7 separate regions of the Homo sapiens genome follow, and all the other regions are linked to region 3. Evidence: promoter capture Hi-C in 16 types of primary human blood cells and fetal thymus (Javierre and others, 2016). All regions are on one chromosome and are shown on one strand. Each heading gives the region's core, a stretch centred on a gene start or on the middle of the fragment in contact. The rest is flanking DNA. Distances are from core to core; before and after follow the strand shown.

Region 1 (2,700 bases), core at 42-2,541, 450 kb before region 3:
CAAAGTGCTGGGATTACAGGCGTGAGCCACTGGCCCGGCCCAGTCTTTTCTACTAATAGTGCCAAAACCAACAAGGAAACCAACAAGGAAAAAAAAATCAACATGTCTAAAACCTAACCAAAACATGGGTCATAGAGTTAAATACAAGAGCTAAAACTATAAAATTTCAAAAAGATAATACAGGAAAAATTCTTCATGCTCTTGGGTCAGTTGAATACTTCTTAATAAAAGTAAACCATAAAAGAAAGAAACTGATAAAATAGACTGAATCAAATTGTAAAACTTTGTTGCTCTTCAAAAGACATTGTTAAAACAAAAGGCAAACCACAGACTGGGACAAAATATTTGCAACACACACACATATTCAAGATATGGAAATTAAAAGCACAATGAGATATCATCATACATCCATTAGAATGATTAAAATTTAAAACTGACAATATCAACTTTTGGCAAGGTGGTAGAATAACTGGAACACATACACTACTGGAGATGAACATATCTATCCACTTTGGAAATAGTTTGGCAATTTCTCATAAAGTTAAACATACTTTAAACATATTTATTGGTCAGCCCAGCAATCCTCCTTAAAAGTATTTATCCAGGCCAGGAGCAGTGGCTCACACCTGTAATCCCAGCACTTTGGGAGGCCAAGGAGGGCGATCACGAGGTCAGGAGATTGAGACCATCCTGGCTAACACGGTGAAACCCTGCCTCTACTAAAAATACAAAAAAATTAGCCGGTGCGGTGGTGGGCACCTGTAGTCCCAGCTACTTGGGAGGCCGAGGCAGAAGAATGGCGTGAACCCGAGAGGCAGAGCTTGCAGTGAGCCAAGATCGTGCTAGTGTACTCCAGCCTGGGCGACAGAGCGAGACTCCATCTCGAAAAAAAAAAAAAGTATTTATCCAAATATTCACAGCAGTTTTATTCATAATAGCCAAGAACTGGAAACAATCTAAATGTCCATCAAGTGGACATTTGAATTGGGGACTAGATAAACAAATTGTGGTATATTCATACAATGGAATACTACCTAACAATTAAAAAGAATGGAAAAAATGTTTTAAATTAAAAAAATAAAAGAATAGAAGAATGAATTACCAATACATGAAACAACATAGATGAGGCTGAGATGGGAGGAGTTTGAGACCAGTCTGGGAAACACAGCGAGACCCTGTCTCTACAAAAAATTTTACAAATTAGCCAGGTGTACTGGTATGCACCTATAATCCTAGCTACTTGGGAGGTTGAGGCAGGAAGGTCCCATGAGCCAGGAGATCAAGGTTGCAATGAGCTATGATTTCACCACAGCATTCCAGTTTGGGTGACAGAGTAAGACCCTACCTCTAAAAACAACAACAACATAGATGAATGTCGAAAGCACAATGCAGATCAACAAAAGCCAAATGCAGAAGAATACATAGTGTATGATTCAATTTACACGGAATTCTAAAACAAACAAAATTATCATGACAGAAACAGATGAGTGTTTGCCCAGGGCCAGGGGTGGAGGGAGGAAATTAAATGCTAAAGGCTATTTATTGTACAAAAGCACAATAAAATCTTCTGATTTGTCAATTTACTCCCCCAACAAATCTACTTTCTCATGGCATTTATTATGCATTTATTATGTGGGTGGCTATGTGAATGACATGCCTGGTCAAACCAATCACCTGAGCCATATGCAAATCAGACACCGTCTCCTCCAGCCTCTTCATATACCTGGCAGGTTTCCACCACACTGGGGGTCTCTTCTCTCAGCTTTGGAGCCCCCTCTCCCTCTGGCTCTGTAAAGGGGCGCTTCTTGCTTCTTTCTTCTCCCTTCTGTCTTGCCTATTAAACTCTCCGCTCCTTAAAACCACTCCACATGCACCCATGTCATCTTATCTAATTGGGCATGAGACAAGAGCCCTGGTGTTCTTCCACTCATCGAAGCCATATCACAATGATTGGCACATTTATGCTCACCAACACGTATCCAAAGTGGGGAAAAAAAAGGAATATTTGTGCCTGCTTCCCACAAAGGGGGAGAGTAACATCATTAAAGATCACGAGCATAAAAATTACAGATACAGGTACATTGGCTTAGAATTCTGTGACCTTGGATAAGTTACCCAACCTTCCCAAGTTTCCCTCTCTGCAAAATTCATGCAAATAACCATCTCATAACGTTGCCAACAGGGTTAAATTGAGAACACATATAATACATCTAATTGTGTCTGGTACACAGTATGTGCTTATTAAAAAATTAGAAACCTGCCTTCACCACCACTACCACCACCATCATCATCCAGCAAGCCAATTCTTTAACTAATCAGTTCAGAGGCTCTTGACCTCAAAAGAATGATTTAATGCCACATGAAATTGAAGGAGAAAATACACAGTTTCAAATTCTCTTTTTCTCCCTGCTCTTCACCCCATGTGGGTGTGCCACTGTGTACCGCCTCAGGCCTAACCCGCAATATGCAAATGATACGTATTTGAAGGATAAATAAATTCCTTAGGCAAAGTGCTAAAAAATAACAGTGGAGGCTGCTCAGCCTATAAAGTAGCCATTCTTTATTCCTTTACTTTCCTAATAAACTTGCTTTCACACACACACAAAAAAAAAACCCACACTGGAAACATAAAACAATGAAGCCATTTAAGTGAAAAAAAAAATCTGTGACTTTCAGTATGTCATTTTTTCAGCCATCTAC
Region 2 (2,700 bases), core at 159-2,658, 310 kb before region 3:
TATGAAGTCTTTACATCTTGAGGCTCAAGTTACAGAATATTTTCTGCCTTTAACTCTAACATTTAATATTCTTATATCCTACAGGAGGTCACAAAATGTTATACAGTAAAGTAATTGGAGCACCACCTGGTGGGCATTCTGGCTACATTCCTGACTTGAAGGGAACAAAATGTGGTTTTTTGAGACCAAGGAGGAATATGACTAGGAAGACATGTCTCCTCCCTTCCGCTGGAGACTGAAGTAACAACTACGTAACTCATAGAACCTTCCAACCACCTAATACTTTAGGAATGTGCTTGGAGCTCTTCTAAATCCATCTCACTTGAACTGCAAAGCCAGAAACAACAGCCATTATTCCTCTGAAGCCTGCAAAATGCTGAGTAGATTAAAAGGATTATGTTTCTGTTCTCATATGCTCAATGCCCATAGCTCAACAACCTTACTTTTACAAGAACCCAGCAACAATGATTTCATTTTGAATGAATCCACGATCTTCTCTGCAACATAGTTAAATGTAACCAGGCCAGGACGGTGGCTCACCCTTGTAATCCCAGCACTTTGGGAGGCCAAGGCGGGAGGGTCATTTGAGGCCAGGTTTTCGAGACCAGCATGTGCCACCATGCCTAGCTAATTTTAAAATTTTTTTGTAGAGATGGGGTGTCGCAATGTTGCCCAGGCTGGTCTTTAACTCCTGGCCTCAAGTGATCCTCCCGCCTCCGCCTCCCAAAGTGCTGGAATTACAAGTGTGAGCCACCGTGCATGTCAACCATTCTTATTTATTCTGCTTTTTATTTTCCTGGCTTCTCTTCAGCACTCTCAACCATTCTTTATAGCAATGCTCCCCAAATTTTTTCATGTGGTATTGCTCGTAGAAAGTGATAATATTAGTACAGTGCTGGACTAAATGGATGAGGTTGCTCAAAGGTTTTATGCAGCCTCTCAAAGAGATGCCACTGGGATTGAGCTCACTTGCCCAAGACAGTAACCCGCTTCTCAATGTATCCTTTAATGGTGTTCCTCTTTTGCCAGTCTTACTTGCCCACTCCCTGATCATGCCTCCTGGGATCACCTCCCAAGTAAACTACTTTCACCCAAATTCTTGTCCCATCACAGTAGATAATGAATACCAAAAAAATGGCAAAATGACAATAAAACTAATATCCAAGCAAAGTGGACCTTTGTGCATCAAGCTTTGCTCTAAAACATGTATCAACCTATTAGGTAAAGCAATGCATTGATTAATTAATGAAGGTAATTACTTAAATTCTGTGCTTCACTTTGCATGTGGAGGCACTGCATGCATTTTAAGAACATTTTTAGACTTATATCAAGACATTTGTCTTTCATACCTAAAGAACTAAGCTACAAAAGGTTTAATGACTTCCCACGTCACATCTTTAACAGTAAAAGTCAAAATAGTTAAAATTCATTGAGCATTCACTATATGCTGGATTCTGTGTGAAGTACTTTTCATCATTCCACTAATCATTTATTTTTAACTTTTTTTAACTATTTTTAATCATTTATTATTTTGGACGTTAAGATACCCACTCCACAAATGAGGAAACTGAGCTAAAAGAGATCGGTTCCAAATTGGCACTGATCAAAAATTAAAGAGAAAGCTTTGAACTAGCAAGTAGAGAGAAGCTGTGGCGACATAGACTATTTTTACACTACAAAATGTTATTCTAATAAAGTCTACATATACACTCAAAGTGAAGTAGAAGATCAGGACAGGTAATCAGATAATTCAAATGCGGCAAATTACTCTTTTTCACAGCAATTCATGAAAAACATATTTGGCTGAATTATCCACATGGTTAAATGAAATCTGCGCTATATGTTATATGTTTAACTAACCTTGAACTTGGTCTTAAACAAATCGTCACTTTGGTCAGCCCTATAAGCAACTGTGGTTGCAAAAAAATTGTCGAGCTGATTATTTGATTAGGTAAAATTGAAAACTCTGATATTTTTAGAGTTGACATTAACATTTCAGTAAAATGAATTCTTCATTCTTGACTCTGTAGGCCGTCTGGGTTTGTTTCCTAGAGACAGAGATGATATTTGCACCAAAAATCTAAATACAGAGAAACAATCTTGAGCAAATGGCCAAGTTTTCACATTGAGATGCTTAAACACATGAAGCTGCCCACATGAAACTGCTGTCATCTTCCATAAAGACTTGGTTTCTTTGTTTTATTTATGTTGACTCACATTGCAGCTACTTTATATTTAGAGTAAAATGGAAATTCTTCTGTATTCTACACAAAGCCAAGCAAATTGCAGTTTTCCTTTCGTTTCTGGGTGTCTTATTTGTTCAAGCTCTTTATAAATAGCCCTGAGCTTGGAAATTAGTTAAGTTTTGCTGTTTTTTCATTCTCCTTTTCTTATAGTTTAAAAATCAAACTGTCTGATTTTATTCTACTTTCATAAGACTGGGCAAGAAGCCCATTTCCTGTTAATGATGAGGTGACCATATTTTGACAGTACATTAAAGAATAGTTGGATGACATACTGGCAGGGGAAAGTCAATTGAGGAAAAAGTGTACTCAGATTTGGAAAATGAGTCAGTGTCTAGGAACCAACTGCATTTAACACACAAAATTTGCTCCAAATGAGCAAATTGAAAATCCTTTAAGAGAAGCTGCATAATAAATATGTCTAGAGTTGTCAGGCACAGAATTCTTTATAAAAAAA
Region 3 (2,700 bases), core at 147-2,646:
AGTTGTTATAAGAAACTCCGCAAATGCAGTCAAGTGTTACCTTGTCACTATAATTAAAGTTTTCTTATGCGAGTAAATGAAACAAACAATCCAGCCCCACACAGGGAAAGCCAGCATTGCCTTGGGGGCAGCAGAACGCGGCACAGCACCGCCCGCCAAGGCCGCAAGATGCCGCAGAATGACTGCTGCAGCAGCCGCTTCCTGGCCAGGTGGCCGTGGCCGTCCGCAGAAAGGCACACTGCAGCGCTCTCGCTATACCTTCCGTGCTGGCATTGCATCAGTGTTAAATCCCCTGGCCACCAACTGCCATATACTTTTTGCTGGTTATGAAGAAACGTGGGGAGGGGACAAAGGGGAGACAGAGTGTGCCTGCAAGTGTGAGAGATCACTATTGCCTCACACTCCCTAAAAAATTTCTCCCCCAAATGTTTATAAGCCAAGTACCAACTTACTTCATCTGCCAGGTCCCTAAATCTGAAATCGCCTTGCCCTTCAAATGCACTAAATGAGTCAGGGTTTTAGGGCAAACCCAGGGATACAAGAAGATCGAAAGTGCCCAATTCTTAGCTGCGAGATAAGCACCAAGTTTGGGGTGGAAGAGTTCACCTCTGCCGACCAGAGCGTACTACCCCGGAGCGCTCCTAGTTTAGAGAGGCTTGGAGAGGAGTGGGCCTCCCGTTCCTGGAGTATCCCAATTCCCAGGGAAGGCCCTTCCCGGCGCTCGCGCTTCAGAGTGCGAGGAAACCCCCACAAGCAATAGCTCACCCGGCTGCATTCTTCAAAGCCCCAACCTCGGGGCGGGGCGCAGGGAGGTGGGAGGTGGAGGGTAGCACCGCCGGGAGGCTCCTGTCAGCGCCTCTCGGTTTTCCCCCTGGCTCCTTGGCGCCCCCTGACGACGGGCTCCGCAGCAATTTGGCCGAGGGAGGCTGGATAGGCGGAAGCTCCGGGTGTCCGGGAAGCTAGAGGCACCCGGCCAATGCACCCGCGGACGGCGCGGACTGGCGGGCGGCCCCGCGGGAGGGCGCTGGGCTCTCAGGCCCGGGTGCAGCCCGCGGACGCCGCCGAAACCGCCGCAGCCATGTCCGCGCGCCCGCGCTGCCGCAGCCTGGCCGTGATGTCATCAGCCGAGCCCCCGCCGCGGCGCCCCATTCCCGCCCCCCGCAGGCTGCCGCGGCTGCAGCCTGAGCGCCGCGTCCCCGCCCCGACCCACGTGCGCCCGGCTTCTGGGATGCTGAGGTCGGCGGCGGCCGCAGGACGATGCGCGGGGCCCGGGCGGCCGCGGCGGCGGCGCTGCTCCTCCCCACTCGCCGCGTCCCCGGCGGGGCTGCGCCCGGGGGCTGCGCACGGACGGGGGCGGGGGCGCCTGGGGAGGGAGGGGAGAGGATCCCAGCCGCCGAGTCGCAGCCTCGTCGCTGTCTGCTGAGTCATGGCAAGCGCTCCCCGCAGCCCTGGATCACTCGCGTAGCGCGGCTGGCGCGGGGTGCGCAGCCATTGGGCTGGGCGCGGGGCCGCGAGCGCCAGGCATGACGCGCTGAGCCGCGCTCACCCGTGCCCGCCGTCCCGGCGTGCGCCCAGCGCGGGTGCCTGTGCCGCCGCCCTCCAGCCCCGCCGTCGAGTCGCCCTCGCCTCGCCCGCACCATGATCGCCGCGGCTTTCCTCGTCTTGCTGAGACCCTACAGCATCCAATGTGCCCTCTTCCTCTTGTTGCTTCTGCTGGGCACCATCGCCACCATCGTCTTCTTCTGCTGCTGGCACCGCAAGCTCCAGAAAGGGAGGCATCCGATGAAATCGGTCTTCTCGGGTCGTTCAAGAAGCCGAGGTAAGACACGCCGCGACGGGTTTCTGCGGGCTACCAGGAACAATTAAGCCGATTTGGAGAGTGAAGCGCGGCTCGCTCCCTTCTCCTCGGCTGCCCCTAGCCCCATCATTGCCCACTCCCCAGGCTGAGTGCGTTTCTTTAACGCCCCTTGCCCTTTTTGCCGTCACCTCCGCCCTCCAGTCTCCCAGGTTTGAATAACCACGGCGATGCCGAGGGCAGGGAGGGGAGGAAAGAACTCAAATTTTTAGTCAGTTTGCTAAAGCCTTAAGGGTAATTTGAGCGTAGTCCGGGGCTGCGCCAGCCTCGCCTTCACGCATCCTTCGCTGGAGCGTAGGGGTAAGAAAGTAAGGCATGGAAACTTCGGGGCTCCCCAACTCCCCCAGAACTTTCATGCAAACTTCTCGCGGAGAAATCACGTAGAGACCGATGGCCCCAGGACTCCTCCTCCCTCCCCCAGGATGTCCCACCGAATTCCAGGAGTCTGCGATGTGCTTTCCCAACCCTGGTCTCCCAGGTAAGTCATGAGTCACTCGGTAGGTGAAGAACAAGGAGTTAAATGAAGTCTCATTTATCTCTTTTCTCCCCAGATGCTGTTTTGAGATCGCACCACTTTCGTTCTGAGGTAATTTATTTAGCGCGCACGCTCAAGGTCAGAAGAAGTTCTCTTTCCTGAGTACCAATATTAATTATATGCGTGTTAAGAAACCAGTAGGACACTGAATGACGAACATGCTGTCCCCTAGCCGAAAGTGGCATGTTTCCTTTTAAGTGATTTCATATTAGTGCCCAGCGAACGGTTTTAGCAAATTTCTTGTGTAGTGGAGCTGTTGTACAAGAGGGGAAAAGGCAAACCCTAAAAGTGCTGCAGACCTTAAAAAACT
Region 4 (2,700 bases), core at 1-2,500, 340 kb after region 3:
AATGAACACTTGCATAAACAGACAAAAACAGAGCAGGATTTTCAAAGAAAAATTAAATGCCTAGAAGAAGACCTGGCGAAAAGTCAAAATTTGGTAAGTGAATTTAAGCAAAAGTGTGACCAACAGAACATTATCATCCAGAATACCAAGAAAGAAGTTAGAAATCTGAATGCGGAACTGAATGCTTCCAAAGAAGAGAAGCGACGCGGGGAGCAGAAAGTTCAGCTACAACAAGCTCAGGTGCAAGAGTTAAATAACAGGTTGAAAAAAGTACAAGACGAATTACACTTAAAGACCATAGAGGAGCAGATGACCCACAGAAAGATGGTTCTGTTTCAGGAAGAATCTGGTAAATTCAAACAATCAGCAGAGGAGTTTCGGAAGAAGATGGAAAAATTAATGGAGTCCAAAGTCATCACTGAAAATGATATTTCAGGCATTAGGCTTGACTTTGTGTCTCTTCAACAAGAAAACTCTAGAGCCCAAGAAAATGCTAAGCTTTGTGAAACAAACATTAAAGAACTTGAAAGACAGCTTCAACAGTATCGTGAACAAATGCAGCAAGGGCAGCACATGGAAGCAAATCATTACCAAAAATGTCAGAAACTTGAGGATGAGCTGATAGCCCAGAAGCGTGAGGTTGAAAACCTGAAGCAAAAAATGGACCAACAGATCAAAGAGCATGAACATCAATTAGTTTTGCTCCAGTGTGAAATTCAAAAAAAGAGCACAGCCAAAGACTGTACCTTCAAACCAGATTTTGAGATGACAGTGAAGGAGTGCCAGCACTCTGGAGAGCTGTCCTCTAGAAACACTGGACACCTTCACCCAACACCCAGATCCCCTCTGTTGAGATGGACTCAAGAACCACAGCCATTGGAAGAGAAGTGGCAGCATCGGGTTGTTGAACAGATACCCAAAGAAGTCCAATTCCAGCCACCAGGGGCTCCACTCGAGAAAGAGAAAAGCCAGCAGTGTTACTCTGAGTACTTTTCTCAGACAAGCACCGAGTTACAGATAACTTTTGATGAGACAAACCCCATTACAAGACTGTCTGAAATTGAGAAGATAAGAGACCAAGCCCTGAACAATTCTAGACCACCTGTTAGGTATCAAGATAACGCATGTGAAATGGAACTGGTGAAGGTTTTGACACCCTTAGAGGTATACTCTGTGTTCTGAGACCTTATCAGCTACCTAATGTCAAGTTTCCTCATTTGTTTCCTTTCTCTCCTAGACTAAATTTTTAAAACAATTTTGAATGTGATTGGCTCATTGTAGTTCTGACAGGAAAATAATGCTATACTCTTTCTGGTAACTTACTTGAATCTTTATCATAAATTAACTTTAATTTTTGAATGTTTGAGATTAAACATACAGATGTAATAGATATACTGTTATATCTGTGGAGATACATTCTGAAAAATGTGAGTATCAAAAAAGCTAGAAGAACCAAGCAGTTAGCTTTAACTTCTAACATATTCTGTGGCTAGACTTTGTCTTAGTCTTTTTTAAAGATATAATTTTAATACCTTTAATTGTCATCTAAGATAAAATTCAGACTCTGAAAATAATATAATACTTATTCCTGAACCCTCCTTGGTTTGAAATTTTTCTTCTTTTCACTAATCTTGTCTTTGTAATTCAAAGAATTATGTTTGGATTGAGAATGGATAAAGTGACATAATGTTCTTGAGGTGACTTTTAACATTTTATAAATTCCTGTTACAGATAGCTAAGAACAAGCAGTATGATATGCATACAGAAGTCACAACATTAAAACAAGAAAAGAACCCAGTTCCCAGTGCTGAAGAATGGATGCTTGAAGGGTGCAGAGCATCTGGTGGACTCAAGAAAGGGGATTTCCTTAAGAAGGGCTTAGAACCAGAGACCTTCCAGAACTTTGATGGTGATCATGCATGTTCAGTCAGGGATGATGAATTTAAATTCCAAGGGCTTAGGCACACTGTGACTGCCAGGCAGTTGGTGGAAGCTAAGCTTCTGGACATGAGAACAATTGAGCAGCTGCGACTCGGTCTTAAGACTGTTGAAGAAGTTCAGAAAACTCTTAACAAGTTTCTGACGAAAGCCACCTCAATTGCAGGGCTTTACCTAGAATCTACAAAAGAAAAGATTTCATTTGCCTCAGCGGCCGAGAGAATCATAATAGACAAAATGGTGGCTTTGGCATTTTTAGAAGCTCAGGCTGCAACAGGTTTTATAATTGATCCCATTTCAGGTCAGACATATTCTGTTGAAGATGCAGTTCTTAAAGGAGTTGTTGACCCCGAATTCAGAATTAGGCTTCTTGAGGCAGAGAAGGCAGCTGTGGGATATTCTTATTCTTCTAAGACATTGTCAGTGTTTCAAGCTATGGAAAATAGAATGCTTGACAGACAAAAAGGTAAACATATCTTGGAAGCCCAGATTGCCAGTGGGGGTGTCATTGACCCTGTGAGAGGCATTCGTGTTCCTCCAGAAATTGCTCTGCAGCAGGGGTTGTTGAATAATGCCATCTTACAGTTTTTACATGAGCCATCCAGCAACACAAGAGTTTTCCCTAATCCCAATAACAAGCAAGCTCTGTATTACTCAGAATTACTGCGAATGTGTGTATTTGATGTAGAGTCCCAATGCTTTCTGTTTCCATTTGGGGAGAGGAACATTTCCAATCTCAATGTCAAGAAAACACATAGAATT
Region 5 (2,700 bases), core at 85-2,584, 370 kb before region 3:
AAAGCTGGAGAACTCATACTTCTCAATTTTAAATCTTAACAATAAAGCCACAGTAACCAATAATCAAGACCACATACTACTGACATAAGGATAAGCAGACAGATCAATGGAATAAAATTAAGAGTACTGAAATAAATGTTTACATTTACAGTTGTATTAGTCTGTTCTCACGCTGCTGTAAAGAACTGCCTGAGACTGGGTAATTTATAAAGGAAAGAGGTTTAATCCTGAGCCCTCTGCGTGTCTGGGGAGGCCTCAGGAAACTTACAATCATGGCAGATGGCACCTCTTCACAGGGCGGCAGGGGAGGGAATGAGAACCAAGCAAAGGGGGAGGCCCCTTATAAAACCATCAGATCTAGTGAGAACTTATTATCATGAGACTACCATGGGGGAGATTGCCCCCATGATTCAGTTACCTCCCACCAAGTCCTTTCCATGACACGTGGGGATTATGGGAACTACAATTCAAGATGAGATTTGGGTGGGGACACAATCAAACCATATCAACAGTCAACTGACTTGACAAGTGTGCCAAGACAATTCAATGAGGAAAGAATGGTTATTTCAACAAATGATGCTGGGACAACTAGATATCTACATGCAAAAGAATGAAGTTGGACCCTTACTTCACACCGTGTATAGAAATTAACACAAAATGAACCACAGATATAAACGTAAGAGCTAAAACTACAAAACTCTTACAGAAAAAACTGTAGGAGTAAATCTTTATGACCTCACATTAGACAAAGACTTCTTAGACTCAATACCAAAAGCACAAGTGACAAGAAAAAAAGATAAATTAGACTTCATCTGAAAAAAAAAAACCTTTTTGTTGCAAACAATACCATCAAGAAAAGACAACCTTCAGAGTGGGGGAAAATATTTGTAAATCATATATCTGATAATGGACTTGTATCCAGAATATGTAAAGAACACTCAACAATAAAAAGCCAAACAATTCAACTACAAAACAGGCAAAGGATTTGAACAGACATCTCTTCACAGATGATATACAAATGACCAATAAGCATATGAAAAGATATTCAGCTTCATTAGAAATGCAAATCAAAACCACAATTACATACCACTTCATACTCACTATGATGGCTATATTTTTTTAAAAGGTAACAATTTTTGGTGAGGATATGGAGAAAGTGGAACCCTCATCCACTGCTGGTAAGATATATAATGATACAGCCACTTTGGAAAACATTTTGATAGCTCCTCAAAAGTTTAAACACAGAATCACCCTATGACCTAGCAATTCTACTCCTAGGTATACACCTGAGAGAAAGGAAAACATATTCACACAAAAACCTGGACACAAATATTCACTGTAGCGTTATTCATAATAGCCAAAATATGGAAACCATCCAAATGTCCCTCGAATGCTGAACAGGTAAAATATTATTTGGCAATTAAAAAATTAATACTGATACATTCTACAGCACAGATGAAACTTGAAAATATTATGCTAAGTAAAAGAAGTCAACCACAAGGGACCACATATTGTATGACTCCATTTATATGAAATGTTCAGAATAGACAAATCCAGAGACAGAAAGCAGGTTAGTGGTTGCCAAGGGTTGGGAGAGGAAGAATAGGGAATGACCATAAATGGGTAAGAGGTTTCATTTTTAGGTGAAAATGTTCTAAAATTACATAGTAGTGTTGATTGCACAATCTGTAATTACACTAAAAACCAATGAATTATACATTGTAAAAGGGTGCATGTCAAGATTTGTGAATTCTAGCTCAATAAATCTATTATTTAAAAAAGTATATGTGACGCTGAGACACTCTACAACTGGGGTCTCCAACTCTCAGGCCACAATACCAGCACCAGCACATGGCCCATTAGGAACCAGGCTGCACAGGAGGTGAGCAGTGAGCGAGCATTACCACCTGAACTCCACTTCCTGTCAGATTAGTGGAGGCATTAGATTCTTATAGGAGTGCGAACCCTATTATGAACTGCACATGTGAGAGATCTAAGATGTGCACTCCTTATGATAATCTAATGACTGATGATCTGAGGTGGATCTGTTCATCCCAAAACCATCCACACCCCTCCCCATCCCCCGACCTCAGTCCGTGGAAAAATTGTCTTCCATGAAACCAGTCCCTGGTGCCAAAAAGGTTGGAGATGGCTGCCCTAGAATAAATAATAGACCTTCTCAAGGACACCTCTCTCTATGACCTACTAAAAATCAGTAATTTCAACAAAAGCAAAAAATAAACTATTTCTAATAGGAATGGATAAATTAACTGTAATTGATAATTGCAATAATGGACTTCACCAAGGATCAAAGTTAAAAGCAAAGTGGAAGATGCAGTGGGTTTGGTTCAGATGGTACCATGCATGACATCTGTCTATGCAAAGGTAGATGTGACTTAGAAACCTCATGAAGTAAATGAAAGAAACTATAGAAACTGCCTACCTAGCATATATTTGACACTAAACGTCTACAAAATGTTTGTTCACTTCCCTTCACAGTCTCTTTTCCCTAACTCATATACTCCATAGTGTTCCTTGCTACAGTGGATATGTCTTCTACTTGTCAGACAGGACAATGTCTTTCACCTATTGCAACTTCTACTTTTTTATTTTATTTGGCTTTAAGCCACGCATTCCAACAACAAAATAGAGTCTCTGCCAGTCCTACTACCATCTGACTGCTCTAAAACTTCCAAAACA
Region 6 (2,700 bases), core at 1-2,500, 340 kb before region 3:
TTTCATACCCCTGTGAAAAATAAACTTACTAGCTAAAGTACAATATTTGTATATAATTCTTTGTATACAGTTTTAGTCATGTGCATTTCTATTTGTGCACAGCTTTTTGTCTTTTAGCCATACAGCATGTAGTGAAAATATTATTTTCCAGAGTTATTGAGATTTGTTCTTTTTCTTCTCCACACCCTTCAGTGCGGTTGTTATTCATTCGTAATATGGTTAGGTTCATTTGTTATAGTTAGTATTCCATTTCAGGTCCCCTCTCCCCACCCATCCTGTTGGTTTTATTTATTGAATGTATGAAACATTGATATGGTTATAAATGTCACAAAATGGTTGTGACTATGGTTATAAAAGTCACAAAAATGCCATTCCCCCCTCATCCCTTCTATCCTATTCCCATCCCTCCATTCTTTTCATCCAGACTTAGAGGTTATTTTAATCCGGGTGTTGGGAAGGATGGTTTTTGCTCTTAGATATATGTTGTAGAACTGAGGAAGAAATGGAAGATTTGTAGGAAGAAGATGACACATTCAATTTTGTAAATGAGTTAAGGTGCCTGTGTAGCTGTTCATGTGGAGATAAGCATCAGGCAATTGGTAGTTAAGATTTGGCACTCAGGAGGGATTTAAAACAAGGAGTAAAACAGGCCCTCCTTTAGTACCTGGGAAATTTGTATTTTCTATCACCTCCATACATTTTATTTCTATTTCTCTAAAATCAGTCTGTTTTTAAGAACAAAGCTAAAAATTATGGTTCTAATTCATTAAACCACAACATGCTGTCAAGCAAATATACAAGCTGCCTTTTTTCATGCCAAATATTTCCTTTGACAGGAGAGAGATTTAGGACTCTTTCCATAGAATCAATGTAGATTGATTCACTCCAAAATAAACCAGTGGTTTGCTACTAGTTAAACCTCTAAGTACTGGAGCAGATATTCCCAATCAAATTTTTTTTTTTATAAAATTCAATTCATGCTGTTAAGAGATAATTTTTTGTCAGTATGTAGAAGTATTTAATATGTAGAAGTCATTATTGGCATCAAAATTGTTGGCAGCATTTTGTCACGTCAGCTGGGGTGGAGAAAAACAACTCTTGAATGGATGACTTTTTGGGTGAAGTTTTTTAAAACAAAGAGGTTTCTTCTTCTGATTCTAGAAGTAACATATCCTTATTATGAAAAATAAAGTTGGTATCAAAAATGTTACAAAGTACAGCTGGGCGTGGTGGCTAACGCCTGTAATTCCAGCATTTTGGGATGCTGAAGTCAGAAGTTGGAGACAAGCCTGGCCAACATGATGAAACCCCTTCTCTGCTAAAAATACAAAAATTAGTTAGGCATGGCAGCACGCCTGTAGTCCCAGCTACTGGGGAGGCTGAGGCAGGAGAACTGCTTGAAATCCGGGAGGTGGAGGTTGCAATGAGCTGAGATCGTGCCACTGCACTCCAGACTGGGTGACAGAGTGAGACTGTGTCTCAAAAAAAAAAAAAGTCATAAAATGAGTAAAAAATGGCAATATTATATCACTTAAAAATAACTACCATGAACACTTTTGTATTTTTCTCCATGTACTTTTTTCAATCAATATACATAAATGCTTAAAGTATATTTATATGTGTATGTATACATTTATATATGTGCTTAAATAAATATACATACACATATGTTATATATGTATATATTTATACATATACTTATTTAAATACATATATACACATACTTATACATAAATTTATGTATAAATATATACATGCACTTGTAATCATACTATATATACTGCTTTTGTTCTGTTTTGGTTTGGTTTTGGGTTTTCTTATTTTTTTGCAGACGGAGTCTCGCTCTGTTGCCCAGGCTGGAGTGCAGTAGCACGATCTCGGCTCACTGCAACCTCCACCTCCTGGGTTCAAGCGATTCTCCTGCCTTAACCTTCTGAGTAGCTGGGATTACAGGTGTGTACCATCACACCCGGCTAATTTTTTGTATTTTTAGTAGAGATGGGGTTTCACCATGTTGGCCAGGCTGGTCTCAAACTCCTGGCCTCATGTGATCCACCCACCTACGCCTCCCAAAGTGCTGAGAATACAGGCATGAGCCACCACGCCTGGCCTATATAAAGTGTTTGGAATCTACTTTTGTTCATTTCATGACATATTGTGGACCTCCTGCAATATCAATAAATACAGCACTACATCATCATTTTTTATAGTTCCATAGTATTCCATTGCATGACTATACCATAATATATTTAACTAATTTCTAATTATAAGACATTAAACTATGTCTAGATTTTCATTATCACAAACTACATTGCAAGGAATACCTTTTTTCTTTTTTTTAAATTATACTTTTAAGTTGTAGGGTGCATGTGCACAACATGCAGGTTTGTTAAATAGGTATACATGTGCCATGTTGGTTTGCTGCACCCATCAGCTTGTCATTTACATATCCCTCCCCCAGACCCCCACCCCCCAACAGGCCCCAGTGTGTGACATTCCCCACCCTGTGTCCATTTGTTCTCATTGTCCAATTCCCACCTATGACTGGGAACATGCAGTGTTAGGTTTTCTGTCCTTTTGATAGTTTGCTGAGAATGATGGTTTCCAGCTTCACCCATGTCGCTGCAAAGGACATGAACTCATCCCTTTTTATGGCTGCATAGTATTCCATGGTGTATATGTGCCACATTTTCTTAATCC
Region 7 (2,700 bases), core at 49-2,548, 320 kb after region 3:
ATCCTGGGCACTGTTTTAGGTTCTAGAGCTACAGCAGTGAACAAAGCAGACAAGAATCTCTACCTTTGTGGTGCTTACATGCTAGAGAGGGAGTTAGACAATAAACAGAATAAATAAGTAAAATTTGTATAGTATGTTAGGTAGTGTAAATGCCAAAGAGGAAAAAGAAAACCAAACAAACCAAAGAAAGGAAGAGGGATACAAGATGGGGTGGAGGAGGAAAGATTGAAAATTTAGACTAGGTAGTCAGAGAGAAGACTTTTCTGATGAAGTTTAATTTGTGTAAAGTGCTGAAGGCATGGAGAGTACAAGTCTTTTACTTCTTAAAATTCACTGTATTTATTACTTAGGAAGAGAAAGAAGAACTTCTGCAGTACAAAAGCACTATAGCAAACCTAATGGGAAAAGCAAAAACAATAATTCAACTGAAGCCAAGGAATTCTGACTGTCCACTCAAAACTTCTATTCCGATCAAAGCTATCTGTGACTACAGACAAATTGAGGTACTTGTAACTCCTAGAAACAGACCAGTTTCTGTCATTATTCATATATTTTGTAAATGAGATCATATTGCTAACTAGTGATCAAGATTTCCCGCCTCATAAAACAAAAAAAATCCCAGGATTGAGTATGGAAAACAGTTAACAGTGACCTCATTGAGTTATTCTGCTCTTTATTTTAAACCAGATAACCATTTACAAAGACGATGAATGTGTTTTGGCGAATAACTCTCATCGTGCTAAATGGAAGGTCATTAGTCCTACTGGGAATGAGGCTATGGTCCCATCTGTGTGCTTCACCGTTCCTCCACCAAACAAAGAAGCGGTGGACCTTGCCAACAGGTTTGTATATATTAGCTAAAAATGTTGAGCTAGTTTTGGGGGCCCTCTGAAGGTTGAAGGAACAATCAATACTTTGTCAAGGCCCCACAGGATCAAAAGTCTCTAGAACTCATCCGTGGAATATTTCACACAAAAAGAAAAATTGCAGTGTGTTTTCAGAGGGAGTAAAAACATTAATCTGAGTTCTCTTTCATGTATTTCAGAATTGAGCAACAGTATCAGAATGTCCTGACTCTTTGGCATGAGTCTCACATAAACATGAAGAGTGTAGTATCCTGGCATTATCTCATCAATGAAATTGATAGAATTCGAGCTAGCAATGTGGCTTCAGTAAGTATGAATCTGTATGTCAACTCGATATGTCCAAAAATGTGCATGCCTTTTCATATGTGTCGTAGAGTTTGTATTTGCTTTAGAATAGGATGGAGTCCGGCAAATCCATGCTAATATTCATTTATTCAATGAATATTTGTTATATGCCCATAGCATATAAGGCACTTTTTAAGAACTGAGGAAATCTGGAGATCACAAATTTCATTCAGAACTTACTGTGAGATAGGGAGGCAGAATGTAGTTGTTGGATATACGATGATGGGTACAGTTGATTTCATTTGAGTTTCGTAGACTTGTTTTTCTTTGTCGTTAAAACCTAAAATTGTTGGCTGGGCGCGGTGGCTCACGCCTGTAATCCCAGGACTTTGGGAGGCCGAGGCAGGTGGATCACCTAAGAGGTCTGGAGTTCGAGACCAGCCTGACCAACGTGGAGAAACCCTGTCTCTACTAAAAATACAAAACTAGCCAGGTGTGGTGGTGCATGCCTGTAATCTTAGCTACTCGGGAGGCTGAGGCAGGAGAATTGCTTGGACCTGGGGGGCAGAGGTTGCAGTGAGCTGAGATCGCGCTCCAGCCTGGGCAATAAGAGTGAAACTCCGTCTCGGCCGGGCGCGGTGGCTCACACCTGTAATCCCAGCACTTTGGGAGGCCGAGGCGGGCGGATCACGAGGTCAGGAGATCGAGACCATCCCGGCTAAAACGGTGAAACCCCGTCTCTACTAAAAATACAAAAAATTAGCCGGGCGTAGTGGCAGGCGCCTGTAGTCCCAGCTACTTGGGAGGCTGAGGCAGGAGAATGGCGTGAACCCGGGAGGCGGAGCTTGCAGTGAGCCGAGATCCCGCCACTGCACTCCAGCCTGGGCGACAGAGCGAGACTCCGTCTCAAAAAAAAAAAGAGTGAAACTCCGTCTCAAAACAAAAAACAAAAAAAAACCACCTAAAATTGTTAATGAAAAAGACAGTTAATTTCAAATGTTCCTATTTATGATTATTCGTTTAGATTGGCATATACCACACGACCAGTTTGAAGTGTCTCCCATTCAAATCTATGAGTAATAGAATGAATTACATGGGTCTTTGGTCTTCTTTAGATAAAGACAATGCTACCTGGTGAACATCAGCAAGTTCTAAGTAATCTACAATCTCGTTTTGAAGATTTTCTGGAAGATAGCCAGGAATCCCAAGTCTTTTCAGGCTCAGATATAACACAACTGGAAAAGGAGGTTAATGTATGTAAGCAGTATTATCAAGAACTTCTTAAATCTGCAGAAAGAGGTAAAGCATGGGGATCCCTGTCTTTTTTTCCCCATAGGTGTTTAGTTCTGGCTATTTTTTGCTCTCAATGGGAATCTCAATCTTAGGTATATTGTATCACCCAGCCTATGATATGTAGACACAATTGGTGGAACGGTAAAAGCATGTTTGAGGTAGGAAGACTCAAGAAGGGATTAATTTGTTTCCAAATGATAAATTAATGAAAGGTGCCAACCAACTGGTTGGACAAACAACGAATTCTTACTTTTCA

Evidence for each region. Contacts are between HindIII fragments. The CHiCAGO score rates a contact against its expected background, and 5 or more counts as called.
Region 1: a contact is called between a fragment that was not itself captured here and the fragment with the promoter of DST in region 3, in 4 of 17 cell types (total B cells, total CD4 T cells, activated CD4 T cells and 1 more). The highest score is 6.4, in total B cells.
Region 2: a fragment that was not itself captured here is called in contact with the fragment with the promoter of DST in region 3 in 10 of 17 cell types (endothelial precursors, erythroblasts, total CD4 T cells and 7 more); the score reaches 10.2 in endothelial precursors.
Region 4: a contact is called between a fragment that was not itself captured here and the fragment with the promoter of DST in region 3, in 1 of 17 cell types (endothelial precursors). The highest score is 5.5, in endothelial precursors.
Region 5: a fragment that was not itself captured here is called in contact with the fragment with the promoter of DST in region 3 in 5 of 17 cell types (erythroblasts, megakaryocytes, naive CD4 T cells and 2 more); the score reaches 12.7 in erythroblasts.
Region 6: a contact is called between a fragment that was not itself captured here and the fragment with the promoter of DST in region 3, in 1 of 17 cell types (erythroblasts). The highest score is 5.5, in erythroblasts.
Region 7: a fragment that was not itself captured here is called in contact with the fragment with the promoter of DST in region 3 in 1 of 17 cell types (endothelial precursors); the score reaches 5.6 in endothelial precursors.

The regions. Positions count from the first base shown.
Region 1 is chr6:57,407,378-57,410,077 of GRCh38, reverse strand. All of the region lies in intron 7 of PRIM2 (DNA primase subunit 2), which reads right to left. Among named protein-coding and RNA genes, the nearest start is that of MIR548U, 19 kb to the right of the region's middle. The HindIII fragment of the contact is 4,227 bases long and covers 1-2,700 here.
Region 2 is chr6:57,265,692-57,268,391 of GRCh38, reverse strand. It overlaps a transcript of PRIM2 not described here. Among named protein-coding and RNA genes, the nearest start is that of LINC03001, 3.7 kb to the right of the region's middle. The HindIII fragment of the contact is 432 bases long and covers 1,193-1,624 here.
Region 3 is chr6:56,953,526-56,956,225 of GRCh38, reverse strand. DST (dystonin) reads left to right here and starts at 1,396. Exons shown (of 104, transcript NM_001374736.1): 1 at 1,396-1,819; 2 at 2,407-2,441. The coding sequence starts at 1,639. It overlaps BEND6 (BEN domain containing 6), which reads right to left and starts at 1,119. Exons shown (of 7, transcript NM_152731.3): 1 at 766-1,119. RefSeq lists a silencer at 931-1,620 and an enhancer at 1,782-2,413. The HindIII fragment of the contact is 5,182 bases long and covers 1-2,700 here.
Region 4 is chr6:56,616,450-56,619,149 of GRCh38, reverse strand. All of the region lies in intron 36 of DST (dystonin), which reads left to right. Among named protein-coding and RNA genes, the nearest start is that of DST-AS1, 230 kb to the left of the region's middle. The HindIII fragment of the contact is 1,500 bases long and covers 501-2,000 here.
Region 5 is chr6:57,327,257-57,329,956 of GRCh38, reverse strand. All of the region lies in intron 5 of PRIM2 (DNA primase subunit 2), which reads right to left. Among named protein-coding and RNA genes, the nearest start is that of PRIM2, 11 kb to the right of the region's middle. The HindIII fragment of the contact is 7,570 bases long and covers 1-2,700 here.
Region 6 is chr6:57,293,609-57,296,308 of GRCh38, reverse strand. It overlaps a transcript of PRIM2 not described here. Among named protein-coding and RNA genes, the nearest start is that of PRIM2, 23 kb to the left of the region's middle. The HindIII fragment of the contact is 6,847 bases long and covers 1-2,700 here.
Region 7 is chr6:56,632,604-56,635,303 of GRCh38, reverse strand. DST (dystonin) reads left to right here. Exons shown (of 104, transcript NM_001374736.1): 25 at 351-503; 26 at 688-842; 27 at 1,046-1,172; 28 at 2,267-2,450. Among named protein-coding and RNA genes, the nearest start is that of DST-AS1, 210 kb to the left of the region's middle. The HindIII fragment of the contact is 3,833 bases long and covers 1-2,700 here.